Linked DNA regions of Homo sapiens: regions 2 and 3 are each linked to region 1. Evidence: promoter capture Hi-C in 16 types of primary human blood cells and fetal thymus (Javierre and others, 2016). All regions are on one chromosome and are shown on one strand. Each heading gives the region's core, a stretch centred on a gene start or on the middle of the fragment in contact. The rest is flanking DNA. Distances are from core to core; before and after follow the strand shown. Region 1 holds the start of NDUFAF4 (NADH:ubiquinone oxidoreductase complex assembly factor 4). Region 2 overlaps FHL5 (four and a half LIM domains 5). Region 3 overlaps FHL5 (four and a half LIM domains 5).

What was found. Contacts are between HindIII fragments. The CHiCAGO score rates a contact against its expected background, and 5 or more counts as called.
Region 2: a contact is called between a fragment that was not itself captured here and the fragment with the promoter of NDUFAF4 in region 1, in 4 of 17 cell types (total B cells, naive B cells, naive CD4 T cells and 1 more). The highest score is 10.4, in total B cells.
Region 3: a contact is called between a fragment that was not itself captured here and the fragment with the promoter of NDUFAF4 in region 1, in 1 of 17 cell types (total B cells). The highest score is 5.6, in total B cells.

Annotation. Positions count from the first base shown.
Region 1 is chr6:96,896,109-96,899,909 of GRCh38, reverse strand. It overlaps NDUFAF4 (NADH:ubiquinone oxidoreductase complex assembly factor 4), which reads left to right and starts at 2,019. Exons shown (of 3, transcript NM_014165.4): 1 at 2,019-2,244; 2 at 3,063-3,166. The coding sequence starts at 2,109. It also overlaps a transcript of KLHL32 not described here. RefSeq lists an enhancer at 2,097-2,196. The HindIII fragment of the contact is 8,617 bases long and covers 45-3,801 here.
Region 2 is chr6:96,605,584-96,609,924 of GRCh38, reverse strand. FHL5 (four and a half LIM domains 5) reads right to left here. Exons shown (of 6, transcript NM_001322466.2): 4 at 3,854-4,023. Among named protein-coding and RNA genes, the nearest start is that of FHL5, 45 kb to the right of the region's middle. The HindIII fragment of the contact is 233 bases long and covers 1,155-1,387 here.
Region 3 is chr6:96,589,259-96,593,681 of GRCh38, reverse strand. All of the region lies in intron 1 of FHL5 (four and a half LIM domains 5), which reads right to left. Among named protein-coding and RNA genes, the nearest start is that of FHL5, 28 kb to the right of the region's middle. The HindIII fragment of the contact is 2,432 bases long and covers 83-2,514 here.

The sequences.
Region 1 (3,801 bases), core at 770-3,269:
TCAGCCATACACATGCATCATAATACTCCACTCAGATGGAAGCTTCATTCTAAGCAGCATCCTAGTTATACTTTCCTTGGGGATCTGACTTCAATCCTTAACATAAGCCCAACAGGAGTTCTTAAGTTCAGAGTTCCTGTTAATTTATATGTTTTGACAAGAAGAGCTGGAATTATGCATTTATGGTTCAGGTTTTATTTCCATGATTCCCAAAGGGTGACAGCCAATTGTGAGTTTCTGATGGAGTGCATCTGCCTTCTGTTTTGCAATTTGAGGGCCTGAGCAGCACTGGGCCAGGATCAGGCAAAGCAGCTGACACATGCTGGAAGCTCTTTCAATGTTGAATCCAAGCTCTATTGGAATGTGTGAATTCAAATAATTATTTCATATTGTAATCCCTACTGTCCTGACAGTCACTTCTAACATTACTTTTTCATACTGCCCGAAGTTCGGTGGAATTTCTATGAAAATGAGATTTTCACTTTTAAAATATTTTAACAGGCAGTGAGTCGAATTGCTACCATGATTAAAGCACATAGACATAATGAGGCAGATTAAAATTTCTTAGCACCCATAGAAATAGAAATACCGTGCCTAAAAAGCCCTGAATCACAAGCATGCTTAAAAGTATCAAAGATAGAAATCTTGGAGCAGCCTGCCACCTTCAGGATAACTTCCCAGTTAATGCTATCTGAGATCACTGATTTCAGCTTCTATAAATTCCAAATACCAATCCCTGTAAAAATGTTCAGTATAATTAAATAAAGGGCATTTAAATTAGAGTGGCTGAAGCCGTCTTCCTTGCAGTGCTTTTGCTCTGATTAAGCATTATACTTAATGATTACATTAGTTTTCTTTTTAAAAAACTTTCCCTTTCTTCATTTTGGTTCTTTGATTCTTGTTTTATTATTATTATTCTATTCGATTATCTTTACATCAATATTTTCTTACTTTAAGCTGGTTAAAAACATCCACTCTACTTCATTTTGCTAAGCAGAGATCAGAACACTAAAAATAGATTTTGCAGCCACAGTAAGAGAAATACTGTAACTTCCTTCCTACTGCTTCCTTCCTGGTGGGTTTTATTTTAGATTAATAACAATATTTCTAAAGGGTCTTAAATAAAAGCAGCACTACAGTAACCCATTCAGGAAATGGAGAGAGACGGAGAAGGTGAATGTAACACTCGTTTTTTTGTTTGTTTGTTTTTTTTTTCTGACGTCTTATTGTCTGTTCCTTTCATTAAATTACACAGAGGCTTAAAAAGAATGAAGAAGGCAAGAGAGAAGAGAAATAGGAGAGGGAATGACTCAGCATTTAGTAGCATGGAGAAGTAAATTAGTAGCAAAAATAAGATAAGGGAAAGTATAACTAAAATCGATACCATTAGGTCAAATGAGAACGGGATGTAAAAAATAATGGAAAAAGAATACAGTGGCTTGAAAATGCATCAGGCGGGGGGACAGGAAAATAAGAGGCATTTAAATGAGAGCGGCTGAGAACAAATACTCATCGAAAGGGAACATCCTTTCATTATTTTCCTTTCACAAAAGCAGGAAAGGGCAACTTGAGAGCCCAGTTTGACCCTGGTTCAGTAAGTTCCATTTTTATCGGCTAACTCTTTGGTGGCATTGCCCTGTGAAACAACTTCAAGGTCAACTTCCTTACGACTTTGATTTTCAGCTCTTCACTGAAACTTTGGAATCACGTGGAGTCTTATCCAATGCTGGGCCTCACTCCACAAGAATTAAATCAGAAAGTCTGGGGTAGGGCCCGGCACAGAACTTTACAGAGCTTCCCGGGTGACTCCCTCGGAGTTCCAGCGTTAAAAGCAACCGTGGGTCTGGGGACTTAAGCCCCGCCACCTCCCGCCGGAAGCGGCCCTCGTGGGAGCCGTCACTCGCCCCGAAGGGAGGGGCTCCCTTTTAAATGCCCTGGGCAGAGAAGCGGTGTGTGGCCTCCCGAGCGCTAGGGGGCGACGGGCACGCATTTAAGCGCCCGCGGCGGGGCTTCCCCTCACTTGTGCGCATGCTCCGGGTGTCCCGGAGTTGTCCTGCGCCGGTGTTCCCACGTGCGGCCTGAACCTGAGCGCATAATGTTATGAGGAGATGGGAGCACTAGTGATTCGCGGTATCAGGAATTTCAACCTAGAGAACCGAGCGGAACGGGAAATCAGCAAGATGAAGCCCTCTGTCGCTCCCAGACACCCCTCTACCAACAGCCTCCTGCGAGAGCAGATTAGTCGTGAGTGGTGCGAGGGCGTTTCGGGGCCCGGGGGCGCGGAGTCCCTGTGCTGCCCGGCTGTCCCTAGCGTGGGTCCGGAGGCCGAGGGATCGGCGTCAGCCTGCTCGGCCGCAGCCGCTCGGGTTGGCGGAGCGTTGGAAGGGGGAGCCGCCAGGCCGGTGACATTGAGACTGTCCTCCGCGCCCGCGGTGAGGTCGGCGGCCCCGCCTACTTCCGAGACCCAGAGGCAGCAGCCAGTGCTCCCGCTAACCAGGCCCTCGCCGGCTGCTGTCACGGACTTGATACAGGGAATCAAAATCCGAGAGGGTCACAGAGCTTTCTCTAGGGGTCTTCACTGGACGATGGACGCAGAGCCTGACCTGGAATTTTGATTTCCATCTAAAGTATTTTCCTAACAGTCCAAATGATTATGTTTATTTTTTAAAAAAATTAAAGTGGTTAGGCCGGGCGCGGTAGCTCAAGCCTGTAATCTCAGCACTTTGGGAGGCCGAGGCGGGCAGATCACCTGAGGTCAGGAGTTCGAGACCAGCCTGGCCAACATGGCTAAACCCCGTCTCTACAAACAATGCAAAAATTAGCCGGGCGTGGTGGCGCGCCTGTAGCCTCAGCTTGTCGGGAGGCTGAGGTGGGAGAATCTCTCGAACCCGGGAGGCGGAGGTTGCAGGGAGCCGAGATCGCGCGACTGCACTCCAGTCTGGGCAACAGAGCGAGACTCCGACTCAAAAAAGAAAATAAAAGAAAGCGTTTGTGTTAAGCGTTTAGGATATTACAGGAAATTTTCCTTGATTTTAATATTGTGACTTTTTTCCTTTCCTTAGTCTATCCAGAAGTTAAAGGAGAGATTGCTCGTAAAGATGAAAAGCTGCTGTCGTTTCTAAAAGATGTGTATGTTGATTCCAAAGATCCTGTGTCTTCCTTGCAGGTAAATGTGTGTTTAATTAAGTGAATACACAATTTACTTATTTTGGGGCTTCAGGAAAATGATTAAGTGTGGCAAGTAGTAAAAAGAGTGCTCTGCAAGTGTGTGTTGTGATCAATCTACACGCCTTGGCAAAGTTTAAGCACACTGGTGTAAGACAGCAAGACACTTATGCCTTGGTTCACTGGATATTTACCAGAATTCTAAAATAACTTGTGGAAGTATTGATACAAGCAACTGTGTGAATTATTTCATAGTATTTCAGAATTTGTAGGATTTGGTAAGGCATTACTTCCAGTGGTTGTCATTTGAGTGACAAAAGCAGAGCTTTAATATTATTTTCTCATTCTTCTGTGGATTGAGGTATGTTCTAATCTCAGAGACTCCTTTAGTAAGTGGTGTTGTTGGATTTTGTGGGGTGTTCCTGTTTGTTTTTTTAAGGATGTATTCAGATAGGATATTTAAAATTAGAAGGATCAAAGAATACATTAGGAATGGGAACCTATGTGTAAATCCATATTCTGTATTATGTAAGTCCTGGGCACAAGTGCTTTGTATATAGTGATGAACAAAACTAGTCCTTATTTTCACAGGGCCTATGATGTTGTGAAGGACACAGCCATTAAACAAATGAGCAA
Region 2 (4,341 bases), core at 22-2,521, 290 kb after region 1:
TATTCTCAACACCTCTACATACTACAGACTATTATCTTTCCCTCTTTTCAGATGAGCAACTAGTGAGGGTTACAGTCATTAAGTTACTTGCCATGGCCATAGTGAGCTAGGATTCAAACCTGCATGGTCTGATTCCACAGCCTGTGTGCATCACCATCAGTGCCATACTGAGTCAAGGTTACCTTACACAGATAAGCAGTTGAAAATCCTTGTTGAATGAATGAATAAATGCCAAAGGAAAAAATAGTTGGAAAGCAATTCCAATATTGTATCTAGCAGTGGGGTGCTGTGGGAATTAGAACTCAATGGAATAAGCCCTGGTTGTACATTGAGCCTTAAGGTGTGATGTGCAGTGTTTTGCCTGAGATGTAATTAGTTCTGCATAAGATAATATTTTCTTTCTAAACCAATTTAATCCATGAATTCTACTTTTTAAAAGGCTGAGAAATCTTTAGTTAGAATCAGATGGATAAATCTTGGGCATTTTTTCTCATGTAACTATTTTTAAGCCACATCACCTTTTGAATTCACAGCTAATGAGCTCTTAGAATTGCTGTAGATACTGGAATGTGTTTTTGTAAGTGTTTTATAATGACTGAAGCAATGGGGTATCTGAGGTGGTTCCTATAACCTTTGTATCAAATTAACTAGGTAGTAAAAACTTAGAGCCTATTTTAAGCCGCCTCGTTGTTTACGAACTCAAAAATGTTATTTGTCTGTTACATAGACTTGTGAAAAAATTATTCTAAAGGTATTTTTAATCTTATAACAAATATCTTAGAAATTAAAGATATTTGATATGAAAGATATTTTCCTAGAGGGAAAAAAGCATACTATTCTGAATAAGTAAATGGGAAGCATAATGTTGTGATGGAAGTAAAGCAATTTAAAATACCTCCTACTGACTTCCAATGCCTTACAGCAGACACAGCAGAATTCATGATTCCTTTGATTTGTTTGGTCTGATGATTAGCAGGCAATGCTTAAAAGATCTGAAACTTGAAAAATGTATTCACAGCAAAATAAAACTTGATATATACACCAAAGACTGTTTAATTAGAGAGAAGAAATTCTGGAACATCAAAAATAGTTTGCTTGTGATTATATTCCTTTTGAAGAGGTAGGAAGGTAAGATAAAGTCTAATATCTAAGCTTGGTTTTCACCACTGATTGATCTCAGGATTTAGAACAAGTTTGTTCTGTGAAAAAGTGGGGGCAATAATGATTTTGCACTCATTATGTGACAGATGAAAAATCGAAGAAGACGTTTAACTCCTTTTGAACCTTGAGGAGTTTGAATTTGAAGCACTTGTAGTTTAAAATCATTTGCTTTCTGGCAGAAAATAAATCTTAGTTTAACAAAATAAAATCTATGGATTTTAAAGCTTAAAAGTTCTAACAGCCTGGTTGTCAAGTAGTTTTTCCTTTTTTTAAGAAAATATTTGGTCTTTGGTTTGGGTTGAAAAAAATTGTTTAGATTGGATCATCTTGATCAAAAACAAATCTAGCTTTTTAGAAAAGGACTTGTGGTTTTAAAAACTAAATAAAAAATAATCTGGCATGTCATAATCTGTCTACTACCCAATATAAATATTTTGTAAATTTTTGATGACTTCAAATCATATCCTAAATATAGTTACAGGCTCCAATAACCTGGGAAACATCAGCACTTGGCCCAGACAGTGCTCAGCATGGATGTACTAAAGAAGTTTCACTCTTGAATTGTTATAGCATTGAAAGAGTCTTCATTATTGTGTCTGATAAATGATTTTAGGATAATTCTCACAAATATCATTACTGTTTTAGTCTGTCTTTAAGAAATGCAGCCTAAAATTGGCCAACTCAGTTGTCTCTCAAAACAGTGAGATAAACCTATTCATTTTATTTCCAGCAAGATTTTATTTTCTTTAGTTTTTAAGTTTTGTATATTTTTTAGAGATAGGATCTCATTGTCACCCAGGCTGGAGTACAGTGGCTCAATCATAGCTCACTGCAGCCTTGAATTTCTGGGCCCAAGTGATCCTCCTGCCTCAGCCACCCAAGTAGCTGGGACTACAGGCACGTGTCACCATACTTGGCTAATTTTTAAACTTTTTTTTTTTTTTATACAGACAGGGTGTCACTATGTTGCCCAGGCTGGTCTTGAACTCCTGGCCTCAGGCAATCTTCCCACCTTGGCTTTCCAAAGTGTTGGGATTACAGACGTGAGCCACCATGCCCAGCTCCAGCATGTTTTTAAATGCCGTCATTGACCCTGGTAATTCTTTGGAGCTTCATATGTCATATGGCTTGATTGCTGCTTGTAAAGTCACCTTCTAAGCCAGTGTTTTGGTAGAGTAATGAAGGTCTCAGTCATAAGATTATTTTATGTCATGTGATCAATTGTAATTCTCAGCCATCAACATAGTGTAATTTAATAATGATAACTTAGCATAGTGTATTGCTGCCTCTTTAAATGCAGTAGTGGTATTGGTTATGTATGTTAAACAGTTAACTGCGTGTGTGTGTGTGTGTGTGTATGTGCATGTGTGTTCACATATGTGTGCATAGAAAGTGGTAGTGTGACTTCCAGCTGTCCAGATATACAAATGGGCTTAAGAGTTCTGCCAAAGTAACCCACAGATAAAAAATACTTTGAAACCACTATACTAATCCAATGTATTTTCATGATTCAGCTTTCTCATGACAATTTATGGTGTCATTTTAAACTTATGATGCCTCGCAGGTCAAGGATTTCTTTGAGAACCTCCATATATATTTTATGGAATGCAGACAGGCTTCATCAAGGTGTTAGAGCTACTTTTTCACATAAAAGCTTAGAGGATAAAAAAAGAATTGGATGAAGTTTACTTCAAAAATATTACTTTTTTTTTCTCTTAGAAAATGTTTTTTTTGAGTGGGAAGCCAAGTCAGAAGGCCCTACATGATCCTGGAACTGGAGTGAAGGAACTTGCTGCTCTTAGTCTTCTTTCTGTCTTTTGTCTACTGAACTTCCCCCATGATCTTGGCACTCTCTTGAGCCGATTGCCCTACTCATAGGAAATACAAAAGCTTCAAGTCAAGAAGACATTTGCATTGCTGAGAAAGAATGTGAGAAGTTAAACATCCTGTTTAACTTGGTTCCCTTAGTCACTTTGTGAGGCAAATCCATATTTCTCTGAAACAGTTAATACTGAATAGATCAAACATTATTTTTTAAGAAACATCTGTATTCAAAGAGAGACCTGTGCTTTCTCCCAGAATACGTGAGATCTTGTATAAAAGCAGTGAATGGGCCGAGTGTGGTGGCTCATGCCTGTAATCCCAGTACTTTGGAAGGCCAAGGCAGGTGGATCACCTGAGGTCAGGAGTTCGAGACCAGACTAGCCAACATGGTGAAACCCTGTCTCTACTAAAAATACAAAAATTAGCTGGACACAGTGGCACGCACCTGTAATCCCAGCTACTTGGAAGGCTGAGACATGAGAATCTCTTGAACCTGGAAGGCAGAGGTTGCAGTGAGCCGAGATTGTACCACTGCACTCCAGCCTGGGTGACAGAGCGAGATTCCATCCCAAAAAAATAAAACAACAACAACAACAAAAAACAGTGAAATGAACTGGAATACCAAATCACTTGAGCTGTTTGGAATATTAAATTCTTGTTGTGGCTGGAATTTTATGGTTAATAAAAAAAAAAAAGATGGTCATGCTCATCGTGACAACTAGTGGTTTGGACATGTTGAAAGTCCAAACTACCATGGGTGTGTTGATTACAGATATAACATAATAGTATCAGTTCATTCTAAATATATGATACAGCTAAAAAGAAATAGTCTGAGTTTCCACAAGCTTCACCCTCTTTAGAAAATTACCTTCTTACAAAAGTTGCAGTAGTGAGCAAACTCCTTCTCAAAACATGGCACACAATAATTGCCACTCTCTTTGGAGATCAAAGGCTTTGTCCCTATAGGTTGTCGGCAATTCTCACACACAAAACAGGTTTCATGCCAGTAGTTTCCCTTAAATTCCATTTTGCGGGAACCTGTACTCCAAAAGTAAGGCCATGTTAGTATAAGTCAAGCATAATTTTATTTTTTAAGCAAATACAGATCAAATTACTTAAAAACGTTTTAAGTTAAGATGATAAATGAATTGTCCTTTTAGAAAAATAGTATTTTTTCAGGTTCAAAAAAACCCATTCATCTGGAGAAAAAAAAATGGTTAATAAAGTTTAGCCATGATGATGGAGAATCACTCTTAGACTGAAAACTTTTTCAAGCTCTGCATAACCTATAATCTGGAGATGTAAAAGTACTTTTAATGGAGACTCCTAATGGTTTCACATGGTTTGGATAAATTG
Region 3 (4,423 bases), core at 49-2,548, 310 kb after region 1:
ATGGCACTTCTGACAGCCTAGAAAGGCTAAGGGGACAAAGATTGAGGTCAATGGACCTTCCATGTAGCAGGCCTGGTAAGCTTATCATTGTGTAGGTGATATTTCCAAAGAGCTATGCCCTTGGAGTAACGTAAATTAGAAGTAAACTAGTATTTCAGAGATGGAAGCCCAGCTTTGAATTACCTCAGTTTCTAAAATTATATTAAGATAACCTTGGAATTCTGGTATCCCTAGGTGAACACCAGAATAAATACACATCCTGTCTGAAGGAAGAAAACATCATCTTAGGCCTCAATTACTTCTACACCAATGTCTAGCACTAAACAAAAATGACCATGTTCAGAAGAAGACAAGGGAATATAAAGAATAGAAACATACATGCAGGAAGCCATAGATTTTGGAGTTATAAGACAGAACATAAAACTATCCTTAATATGTTCAAGGGGGTAAATAAAATAAGGAGCAAAAATTTTGCAGAGAATTAAAAACAATGAAAAAGAATGAAATGTAAATTATAGTACAGAAATATACAATGATTTAAATTAGGGACATAATGGGAAATTTTAGAAAAGATTGTATGAAATGAAAAAGATGATAAAATAGAAAATAAAATTAAGCATGATGATAAAAGGTATAAAAAGTACAATTAAGAAAGTAAGAAACATAGATGATAGAATGAGAATGAGAAAAGAGAAAAATATACAAGTTGTATTTGAAGAAACAATGGCCCATCTTCCAAAACTGACAAAATACATGCCCCAAATTTTAAAAACCAAGAAAACATGAACCTCAACTGACCTGAAAAACACACTTGGACACATCAGGGTACAACTACTAAAAACGAAAGACAAATAACATATCAAAAGTAGATTATAAAATGTTGCGGGAAGTCAGGGACCCTGAACGGAGGGACTGGCTGAAGCCATGGTGGAAGAACATAAATTGTGAAGATTTCATGGACATTTATTAGATCCCCAAATTAATACTTTTATAATTTCTTATGCCTGTCTTTACTGCAATCTCTAAACATAAATTGTGAAGATTTCTTGGACACTTACCACTTCCCCAGTCAATACCCCTGTGATTTCCTATGCCTGTTTTCACTTTAATCTCTTAATCCTGTCATCTCGTAAGCTGAGGAGGATGTATGTTGCCTCAGGACCCTGTGATGATTGCATTAACTGCACAAATTGTAGAGCATGTGTGTTTGAACAATATGAAATCTGGGCACCTTGAAATAAGAACAGGATAACAGCAATGTTCAAGGGAATAAGAGAGATAACCTTAAACTCTGACCGCCAGTGAGCTGGGCGGAACAGAGCCGTATTTCTCTTCTTTCAAAAGCAAATGGGAGAAGTATCACTGAATTCTTTTTCTCAGCAAGGAACATCCCTGAGAAAGAGAATGTGCCCCTGAGGGTGGGCCTCTACAATGGCCCCCTTGGGTGTGGCCATCTTCTATGGTCAAGACTGTAGGGATGAAATAAGCCCCAGTCTCCCATAGTGCTCCCAGGCTTATTAGGACGAGAAAATTCCCACCTAATAAATTTTGGTCAGACAGGTTGCTCTCAAACCCTGTCTCCTGATAAGATGTTATCAATGACAGTGGTGCCCGAAACTTCATTAGCAATTTTAATTTTGCCCCGGTCCTATGGTCCTGTGATCTCGCCCTGCCTCCATTTGCCTTGTGATATTCTATTATCTTGTGAAGTACCTGATCTCTGTGACCCACACCCTATTCGTACACTCCCTCCCCATTGAAAATCCCTAATAAAAACTTGCTGGTTTTACAGCTCAGGGGACATCACGGAACCTATCGACATGTGATGTGTCCCCCAGATGCCCAGCTTTAAAATTTCTCTCTTTTGTTCTCTGTCCCTTTATTTCTCAAACTGGCTGACACTTAGGGAAAATAGAAAAGCACCTACATGAAATATCGGGGGTGAATTTCCCCCCGATATCTGGCTGAATTTCCCCTGATAATAAAATATTACTTTCAGATTAATAACAAATTGAGGATACCTACTTCTCAACAGAAAAAAAAGGAAGCTAGACAATGGAGAGATATATTCAAATTGCTGAAAAAAATTAGCAGCCAACCTAGAAGTCTATGCCCAGGTAAAAGATCTTTTGACAATGAAGGTAAAAGCATTTTCAGGCCATCAGAAACTAAATTTATTAATCATCCACCCACGTTAAAATAATACCAAACAGTGTTCTTTGGGCAAAAGTACACATTGGAGATCACAGGTGCGGAAAAGAGTAGGGAAAAAATGAAAACCGTAAACATGTAGATGAATCTATGTAAATCTGACTATGTACAACAACCCTGTGTCAAAGAATTAGAAAATTTAGGTAAAATGGAAAAATCTAAAATAAATAAAACTATTAAAATTGACACAAGAAGAAATAAAAAATTATGACAACTATTAGATAAGTTGAATTTGTAATTAAAAAGGCTACATACAGAGGGAAATAAAGCCAAAGTGGCTTTACCAGTGAATTTTGCCAAGCTTTAAAGAAGAAATAACAGCAATCTCACACAAACCAAATCAAGTAAGTACAAACAGAGAACATGCTCTGGTAAATTTTGAACTCATTAACACTTTGGTATCAAAATCTAAAATCATTATGAGAAAGGAAAACTATAGGTCCATAATACTTCTGACAATAAATACAAAACCCAAACCCAAATAACAAGCAACTAAATCCAGTGATATATGAAGAGATTAGTATATCATGATCAAGTTGATTTCATTTTAGGAATGCCAAGTTCAGTTTAAAATTCAAGAGAATCACTGTGTTTCAATAATTTTACCAAGTAAAAGTGAAAGCTGTAAAATTACCTCAGCAGCTGCAGAAAAGGCATTTGATAAAATCTTACTTCAATTTATGATTAAAAACTCTTAACAAACTAAAAATGAAAGAAACTTCTTCAATGTGGTTTAAAAAAACCTATAGCGAACACTATACTTAATGGTAAATGTTGATAGCTTTTACTCGGATTATAAATAGGAAAAGAATACCCACAATCACCACTTCTATTCAGCTTTATACTGGAAGCCATAGATTTTGCAGTAAGGTGAGGGAAAAAAGTACAAGAGTTAAAAGGAAACAAACTCATTATTTGCTGATGTTCTAATTGTGGAGAAAATCAAAAAAATTCTATAATACCTGATTAGAATTTACAAGTTAGTTATTAGAGTTGCTCAGTAAAATGTCTATATATAAAAATCAATTGTATTCCTATTTAACAATAACAAACAGTGAAATGAAAAAAAATCATTTATGATATTTAAATTCCCTGAGAAACCTAATAAGAATGTATGAGCTCTCTACATAGAAAATTATAAGACTTTGAAAGAATAAACAGAAAACCAAAATAAATACATGGAAGGAAAATACCATGCTCTTAGACTTGAAGACTTACTATTGTGAAGGTATTATTTCCCCTTCATTTGCCCTATAGATGCAAAATAAAATTCCATCAGGTTATTTTTTTACAAGCTAATTCCATAACTTATAAAGAAATGCAGAGGGCCAGGAATAGTGTAATCACCTTTGAACAAGAACAAGATTGGAAGACTTGCTAAGTCAGATATCAAGACATTATAAAGCTACTATAGTGGATGGTATGGTATAAACACAGGATTAAATACTTAGATCACCAGAACAGAATAGAGAGCTCAAAAGCAAGTCTATACATATATAACACATGACCTAAAGGACAGTGAGGAATAACGAAGAATAGGAATGGTCTTTTTAGTAAATGGTGTTGGGTCAATTGTATTTATTTCCATATGAAAAAGAATGAAACTAGATTACTACTTCACATGACATATAAAGATTATTTCCAGGTGAACCATAGATCTCAGTGTTAGGACAAAGCAATAATCCTTTGAGAATATAAGAGAATGTCATTATAAACTTGTAATGTGAAAGGTTTCAGAAATAAGCCAGAAAATATGCTGGCCATGTAGAGAAAATTTAATACACTAGACTAAATTAAACTTAAGAACTTCTGTTTCTCAAAAAACACAAATAAGAGTAAAGAGAGAGCCAAAGAATGTATTGCAATTCATTAATTAACAAAGAAGTCATATCCAAAACATGTGAAGAAGTCCTACGAATCAATAAGAAAAAAAATGGACCACCCAATAAAAGTACAAAAGACTTGAACAGATACACAGAGGAGGATAACCAGCTGGCTAATAAACATGAAAATGTTCTCAACTTCATTAACAACCACTGAAAGATAATTTAGCAAGTTCCTTGATACAAGGTCAATATAAAAATATCAGCAAAATTCCTACACATCAGAAATACAATGTTAAAAAAATACAATATTCAAAAGCAATGGAAATTGTACTTGTCTTAAATGTAACAAGATGTATCTGAAACTTTAATATAGTGGAAGAATTTGT